3 separate regions of the Homo sapiens genome follow, and regions 2 and 3 are each linked to region 1. Evidence: promoter capture Hi-C in human tissues and cell types (Jung and others, 2019). All regions are on one chromosome and are shown on one strand. The core of a region is centred on a gene start or on the middle of the fragment in contact, and the rest is flanking DNA. Distances in the headings are between cores, read along the strand shown.

Region 1 (2,669 bases), core at 92-2,591:
AGATGTACTTGGCTTCTTCCTTTCTCTTAATTTACCCCTATGGCTCTCATTTTGCCTCAGAATGTGAAAGAATAGGCTTACTACTTTGCATTTAGTTAATTTGGTGAGTTCACTGTACTCTCATCTCTGGGCTATTAAATAGTTCAAAAATAAATATCGCATCACTTGTGGAATATGTAGCATGGATCTCATTTGAGCTGTGTTTTAAAACAAATGGTAATTATTTAACATTTACATCATACTTGGAAAGTATTTCAGAATAGAACTTTTTAATAATAAGTAGTCAAACACATAACTGGGATCAATGGGCAAGAGAAAAATAAAATTTTAATGTTCCATTGAAAGGTGTAGGCTCAGGAAGAGAGAAAAATACTTATGTGTATTTTGTATACTCATGTGTATTTGGGACAAACACAGGTTGTGGACGACAGGATTGAAAGTCAGATTAACTGGATCAAAATTCAGGCTGCGTACTGAGCCAGTCTAAGATTTCACCGAAATCTGGGAGCTGCTCCCACTCCCTGGACTTTTGTGCAAAGACTGGAGGAAGCTGTGAACAGCCTGGGCTAGGAGAACATTCCCCCTCTGGGAGGAGAGGCTCGCATGAGCTCATGGGGCTTTCCACCGCAGACCCAGCCTTGGCAGCCACAAAGTGTCCAGCAGTGAAACCTGGCCCTTCAGTTCTCAAGGGCCCTTTGGAACATATTTGACTCTAAGCAGAGGTCACTATTCCAAGAGTGACTCATGTCTTGGGGTTAAGTGGAGATGATGGGTGGGATCCATGAACAGATCCAGCTCTTCCCAATGTGGGGGGCACCAGAGTGCATAGCTTGGGAGGGTTGGTCATCCGAAGAGGCACTGCGTGGGTGCATCCCGGGCAAAAAGGATGAGAAGGTGATCCACTGGCTTCCATACCCTGGGAAAGGTGTCAGACCGTGAGGTCACATCAAAAGGTATGAGTGTGGGTACCTCCTTCCCTCCCCCGACGGTGGGGGCCTCATCTCTCGGCCATATCACCTCTGTGCCTTGCACACTTCCTGGCTCAGACTCAGCCCTGTCCACGTTCTCTTCCACCATCTGATCTGCCCCCATCTCCCAAAGACTACTTGTGGGGACTAGGGAGGTTTAGGGGTGTAGTCAAGCCAGATGCACCGAGGTTGCTGCGGTGGGAAGAGGGCGCTGGGAGGGAGGAGGACCTGGGGCGCAGCCGTGGTGGGTGCGCCCTGCCAAGAAGGGCGGGGGCGACGGGGCGCGCACGCGGAGGAGGAGGAGGAGGAGGGAGACGGGAGGGCGTGTGAGCGAGTGAGACAAGAAAAGGGAGCGCGCCCGCCGCCGCCGCCGCCGCCGCCCTCCTCTGGAGAGAGAGGCTGGAGTGAGGCTGTGCGAAGCGCCGCATTTCAATGAGGACGGGCCGAGGCACATCCCTGCACTAGTGGCCGCAACCGAGGCGCCGCGCTCCAGCAGCTGCTGCCGCCCAGCCCGGCCCCGCCGCCGCCCCCCAGCCCTGCAGCCCCGCAGCCCCGGCCGCGCCCAGCCCGGCGAGGACAGCACCAGGAGGCGGCCCCCAGCGCGGCCACAAAGACCCCCGGCGGCGTCTCTCCGCGGACCGGTGCGTGGTTTGCCTTCCCTGGGGACGGGAGCTGCGGGGAGGGCGGCCGGGGGACTCCGCAGAGCCCGCTCCGCCCGCAGCCGCGGGGCGCCGAGGGCAGGGCGGGCGCTCAGCTTGGCCCCGCCGCCCCGCCCGCAGTTCCTCGAAAGGCGGCCGCCCTGCCCTGGCCAGCCTGGCCCGACCCGGGGGCGTTGCGTGCGGGCGGCCCCGGGGCTGCTGGCACCTGCCTCTTTTGTTTGGTGCCATGGGGCTTTAAACCTGGAGTCAGGCGAGCGGGCCCTCCCAGGCTTTTCGCGTTGTTAGTGGAGATGGAGAGCCAGGGCGGAGGAGCTGGGAGAGGTGCTTGTCATTGTCAGAACTGGCTGCGGAGCGGGAACCAAGGAAGGAGTGGCCGGGCCCGGCCTCTTATTGTGTGTGTGCTTTTCCGTGTGCCCGGGCCAGTGATGTGTGCTTGTGGATGGGGTCGATTCGTGCGTGGTGGTGGCTGCAGCGTGGGTGTTGCAAGTACGTTTGCAGGGTCTCAAGTTCCTTCAGGGACAGCGAGGCTGCCTCATGTTCAAATTAGTACCTGCAGTGCTAAAAGCTTGCGGAGAGGAAATGGCATTTTTTCCTCCTAGTGGGAGCGCACGCACAGCCCCGCAATGCCCCACAAAAGAGGCTGCTTTTGAAAACCAGGTTTGCGCGGAATTGCTCCTGGATTTGGCAAGGAGATGCTTGGTCGGTGAGAGAGAAGATGAAAGGTTTCATTCAAACCGGCTCCCTCTCTGCTGCACCTGTGAGTGTGTCCAGGCACGGTGCACACACGTTCAGCGACCACACTGCAGGCTGTTCCGTGAATACATTTTATGACTGTTCCTAAATATATTGCCTTTCAGTGGGAAAGGAAAGTAGGACAGCGTTTTAAGTATGAAATGTCACATGGATGCAGGTCAGAAGGGATTTTTTAAGAGAGGTCATATAGAGGAAAATTATAAAAGATATGCACACACCCTGTGATGTCTACGTCCGTGGTGGTGCACGGGCCTGGAAGGTATGTGTGCGTTTTATTTCATGCCAGTCC
Region 2 (2,669 bases), core at 58-2,557, 42 kb before region 1:
TGGTCCAGCAGGGACGTGATGGCTTCTGGTGTTCCTCCATTGTGGAGAGGTCTCGGGCCCTGGAGCTGTCCAGCCCTATTTCAATTAGTGGTGCTTAAAGCAGGTCATTAGTGCAAAATGTGACTTCCCAAATGATTACTTTCTTCTCTAGATTGATCAGAATATGTAAACAAAGAGAAACTGGAGAAAAAGCACATCATTCCTGCACATCCTAAGGAATTATCGTGGGTCATGTGTCTTTGCTCATATGTAAATAATCCATAGTTGAGGCTTTATCAGTGTTTTTAGAACTTGAATGATAAAAGGGCAATTGAACTCAGCAGTGTCCACATTGTTTTCCTTGAAAAATGTGCAAATAATTTTTTCTGTCCTTTCAAGGGAAAACAGTGTGATGAGCACTTACTCCCCTGAGAGAGGGCTCCAATTCCTGACTAATACGTGCTGGAATGGGTGCTCCACTCCTGATGCAGAGAGCTCCTTGGATGAAGCTGTGAGAGGTGAGCTTCTCCTAGCATCTGTGCCACTTAGAGGGGGACCTGCCCTGCCCTGCAAACCCCCAGGCTCCTGTGCATTCACCACCATAACCAGGGAATCCAGGAGAGCTGATGAGTCCTTCTGGTATTGTCAGCCTCAGGTACACAAGGTGGCTACAGTTGTTTAAATAGTGTTATGCCAGAAACTGGGCTCAAAATTGACCGTAATTACCAGAAAGCTCATTCTGTTGATAGATGATAAGCACACTGGTGACTTTGTTTATAATATGAATAGAATCTCAGGGGAGGGGAAGTATTCGTATAATTTCAGGACTGACTGTGTCCTGAGCATTTAACATATTTATTTACCTCCTTCATGCCTTTGCTTGCATGTCACCTCTCAAAGAGATCTTCTCAGCCACTTTCTCTGCTGTATTTGTCTTGATAGCACTCACTGCCTTCTGCTATTCTTTACTTGTGTGTTTTGTTTGTTGCCTATCTTCCATTAGAATGTCACCTCCATGAAGGCAGGGAATTTTTTGGCTGGTTTTATTCATTGCTGTATTTCTAGTACCTAGAACAATGACCAACATACAGGAGGGGCTCAAGAAATCTCATTATGTGAATATTCATTGTGGAACAAATGCTTTCCCGCTGGGAGGCATTTTTGTTATATGTGCCGTATAAGCCTAGACATGCCCGTGTACCTGAAATAACAAGATGGAAAAAAATAGAGGAAAAGAACACAGCTAGCAGTTTGTGACTTTTAGTATTCCTGAAGATAAAGTTACTCTCCGTCTAGAAACCAGGAAGGTATGGACCTCTTGACCTAAATGTTAGACGCTAGATGACAGGACTGCCTCTCTCCTCAGCCTCTCAGTCCTAGATGACACTTCTGACTTCCTCCAACAGGCTCTGCTCTCACCAAGCACCTCCCTTGTACCAGGAATGTCCTTCCTCCCTCACCTGCGCTAGTTAGTACCAAGTCCATCCCTAGTTCTCAGCTTAAATGTCCCTGCCTCAAAGATGGGGACACAAAGATGAATAAAAGGCAGTTCTTGTTCTTATGGAGCTCACAACTTAGTGGTAGAAAGGGTCACAAAAGAAATTATGGCCCAGACAGTCTTGTAAGTGCTGTAGTAGAGGAACCATGCACAGATGGGGATGTGGCGGAAGCCATGGGAACAAATGAAGGTTATGCAGCATAGTGTCTAAAGTCAAAAGAGCAGGGACCCCCAGATAGAACCCAGCCCTGATTCTTCATATCACCAAAGAAGCCTCAGGGTGTTATTTTAGTCAGTTTAGACTTTTCTCCCAACTTAGAGGAGAGAAGAGAGGAGAAGAAAAAAAAATTGCCATAAGTAGCAGTGGCTGAATGTGACATGGAATGATTAAATCAGCTTAGATTAAATCAGATAGAGATCAGGCCACAGGCATATGCCTGTCAATGTTATTTTTTTGTACATACAATACTATTTATGTCCTGCAGAAACTCTGAAACATTATTTTCGTGGCAGCGAGTTCAGGCCTTTCTATGCCCCAGCATTTCAAGACACTGCCTCCCCTAAGGAGACCAATCTTGGGAAGCCAGAGATATGCTAGGAATAGACCTGTGGTAGGTTCAAACCCTAGGAGGCCTTGAAGGTTAAGGAGTCAAAACTGCCATTTTTATTTGATGTAAATACATTTTTGCGTTTGAAAACCAGTGCCGATCCTTTACTAACCTGGATAAGATAATCACCGTGTTCATTTTTTAATGTATTTCCTTCAAGTCTTCTTCCAGATATATTTTTCTATAGTAGTAATCATTGGATATCCCATTTTGTTTCTTGAATTTTTTTACTTAACTTTGTGTCATACATATGTATATTTGTTGTTATGCATCACTCATCACCATTTTAATAGTTTTAATCATTTATCAAGGGTAGAGTAATTTTCTTAGCCATTTTCCAGTCGCTACATTTAGCATTTGCAGTTTGGGGAGAGAGTGATTTTTTACATCATATGATAGGAAATATTTTCCCATATATGAAGTTTTCTGTATTTTGGACTTTTCCTTGGACTGGATTCCTGGAAGAGTATAATGGGTTCCTGGAAGAGTGTGATGGGTGACTTAGAGAACAGAGAACGTGAATGTATGTATAGGCTCTTAATGCATGTTGCCAAATTGTTTTGGAAAGAGGATCAGAGAAGTTG
Region 3 (2,669 bases), core at 125-2,624, 35 kb after region 1:
GGCTTTGTAGAAAAGAATAAAATCATCTTGTATGTTGAATCCAGCCCAGGGATAATATCAATAAATGTAGAATAGCAGCTAGTGTTTCTTGAATGTTTACCGTATGCCAGGCACTAACTAAAATTTCGATTTTTTACCCCATTAACAGTATTATGGGAGTAGATACTATTGTTATCTCCCTTTCACAGATGCAGAATCAGGGGGAAAGTAACTGGCCCAAGTGATTAGTACCTGGTCAAGGCAGACTGACATTCTTAACCACAGTGTCATATCTGACATTATATAGTGTTTTCCAAATACTTTAAGTATATAAAATTCATGTGCATCTTTTTTTTTTTGGTAAGAATGCTCACAATTTATTGCTGAGCTTTATTGGTGTGCCTGCTGGAGTTTAAAAATACTTTTCTTCTGAAATTATCAAATTCCTGTGATTTGTCAGTCTTTAAACACATTGAGATTAATATACTACCCTGTTAAAAGGGTTAGACTGGGTTGCCAAAAGACAGTAAATGTTGAGAAAGCTACTGAAATGTCTTCTTTCAATTTCTTCTAAGTGTTTCTTGCTATTTTGATTCCTATTTGGATTGTTAATGATTATGAAAATAATCCATTTAGAGTAATTTTAAAAACTTAAGAATCTTACTTTAGATTATTATAAAAATTTATATTCCCAATAGTGGAAAAAGAACATTTTTAATGTAACTAACACATCACAGAGATATACAGTACAACTATTTTATAGAGTGTGAATATCGCAAAATTTAAAAACATGTCAACTTTAAAATAAAAAATGATTACAGCTTTATTAAGCTATAATTTTCGTACTACAAAAAGCACCCATTTTAAGTATATTATTTAATGATTTTAATAAATGCATAGAATCATGCAACCATCACCACATTCCAGTGTTAGACACTTTGACCAAGAAAGTTCCTTCATCTGCATTTGCAGTCAATCTGGGCTCCCACCCCTAGCCCAGCAGCCACTGATCTGCTTATTAGTCACATCAGCTTTTAAATGTTGACCTCATTTTTCTATCTGCTTTTATAGAAAAGTCTCCTTTCTACCTTCTAAGTCATTTGTGTAATTATGGATTCACTAAGTTCATCGCCTTTAACCTGTAACTGTAGCCTCCATCCTCTCCAGCTCGGTTTGACTAGCTCTGGGTTTTATTGAGGTTTTATAAGTAACTTATTACAGAGGTTATGTAGCCAGTTTCAGCACTGTGAGCCACTTATTATCTTTGCACTCTTTGCACATACGGCATTTCTGAGCTCACTCCAGACTTAGGTATCCAGGAGAAGAAAGCTTTCATGTTCATGGCAGGATGGAATAATTACTGTCTTCTAAGCCCTAGGGATGCTTCCTTGGGGTCTATTCTTCTCTCCTACCTTCTTGGGGCCCCATTTGGTGACATTTGCTTTGTTACAGTCCAAAATACCATTTATAAGCTGATTAGGTTTCACATGATATTAACATATTTCAAGCTGTGTATATCTTTTTGCATTTCATAGTTAAAATATGGCTTCCATGTGCTTTGTCTGTTCCTTGGATGAGATCCAATTATTTCATAATCTCTGTCATTCCCTCTTCATGGTGAGTTTCCCACTTGTCCTTTCATCACTTTGCTATTCAAGATCTTTGAGGACTTTTAAAAGATTACCTATTTCTTTCTTCTCAAGGAAAGAGACTTAATTGTGCATTTTAATATTCTGCCGTACAGTAAAGCTGCACCTGGGGGATTATGTTCACTGAACCATCATTGAAAATGCCTTTGTACTTCAGTGTTAAGATGCTGCTGGCCTTTGGATTCCAGAAAAGATTGTGTATTCAGTGTATACTTATCTTCTTTTTCTTGTTCAAGGCCATCTCTAAACCAAAAACAAGGACCGGTCTCCCCTGTGAAGCCTCTTACAAGATGGGAAAGAAAAGCTGGTCTCTGGCTGAGATTCAAAGGCCTTGGGCTTATATCTAGGCATAGTTCTGAGGTTAGTGAGGAACTGAGATTGCTTCCCAGATTTTTCTCCCTTTCTGACCTCCTTCTTGGTAATCTGTCTCTCCAAAGAACCAAAGGGGTTTTGGTGGTGGTTAGCTACATTAAAGAAAATTACATACAAAAAACCCTTTCAAAACCAATGGAACTTGTTTATAGTTTTTAACCCTCTCTTTTGGGGGCTTTATTATATAGGTCTTATTATTAAATTGAAATTAAATAAAATAGTGATTTAGTTTGTTTATTATATGGTTTATTGTAATTTCCTTTAGCTAAAGCTGACAACAGAAAATAATATCAATGAAATGGAAAAATTCTTTTAATTCCAGGAATTTAAGACAAAATCCTCTATCTTTAATTTAGTTTTTCTTATTTTATCTACAACAATGGCTCTTAAATTTTGGGGCTTGCATTCCCCTTTGAGAATCTTATGACTGCTATGGCCATATCCTCAAGAAAGTTATGCTTCTCAGATGAGGTAGCATTTAATTTTTCTACTATGTTTCTCAGCAGTGTTCAGTCTTTGACTCTCATATTTTGGGGGAAGGGGTGGTGGAATTTATATGTCCATGATATTTACTTATCCGGTGACATAAATCAAGTCTTGTTTTAGATCATCTTTAATTTTCTTGCATTAAGTAGTGGTTTTTTGGAAACATTTGGGAGTTTGAGCCCA

What was found. The method cuts DNA at HindIII sites, captures the fragments that hold promoters and counts their contacts. A contact is called where the count stands out against the background at its distance.
Region 2: a fragment that was not itself captured here is called in contact with the fragment with the promoter of DCLK1 in region 1 in 2 of the 25 tissues and cell types used here (bladder and psoas muscle).
Region 3: a contact is called between a fragment that was not itself captured here and the fragment with the promoter of DCLK1 in region 1, in 3 of the 25 tissues and cell types used here (bladder, dorsolateral prefrontal cortex and liver).

Annotation. Positions count from the first base shown.
Region 1 is chr13:36,130,054-36,132,722 of GRCh38, reverse strand. DCLK1 (doublecortin like kinase 1) reads left to right here and starts at 1,341. Exons shown (of 17, transcript NM_001330071.2): 1 at 1,341-1,609. The HindIII fragment of the contact is 11,041 bases long and covers 1-2,669 here.
Region 2 is chr13:36,171,520-36,174,188 of GRCh38, reverse strand. It overlaps CCDC169-SOHLH2 (CCDC169-SOHLH2 readthrough), which reads left to right. Exons shown (of 16, transcript NM_001198910.2): 14 at 379-497. It overlaps SOHLH2 (spermatogenesis and oogenesis specific basic helix-loop-helix 2), which reads left to right. Exons shown (of 11, transcript NM_017826.3): 9 at 379-497. Among named protein-coding and RNA genes, the nearest start is that of DCLK1, 41 kb to the right of the region's middle. The HindIII fragment of the contact is 5,056 bases long and covers 1-2,669 here.
Region 3 is chr13:36,095,520-36,098,188 of GRCh38, reverse strand. All of the region lies in intron 3 of DCLK1 (doublecortin like kinase 1), which reads left to right. Among named protein-coding and RNA genes, the nearest start is that of DCLK1, 35 kb to the left of the region's middle. The HindIII fragment of the contact is 3,803 bases long and covers 1-2,669 here.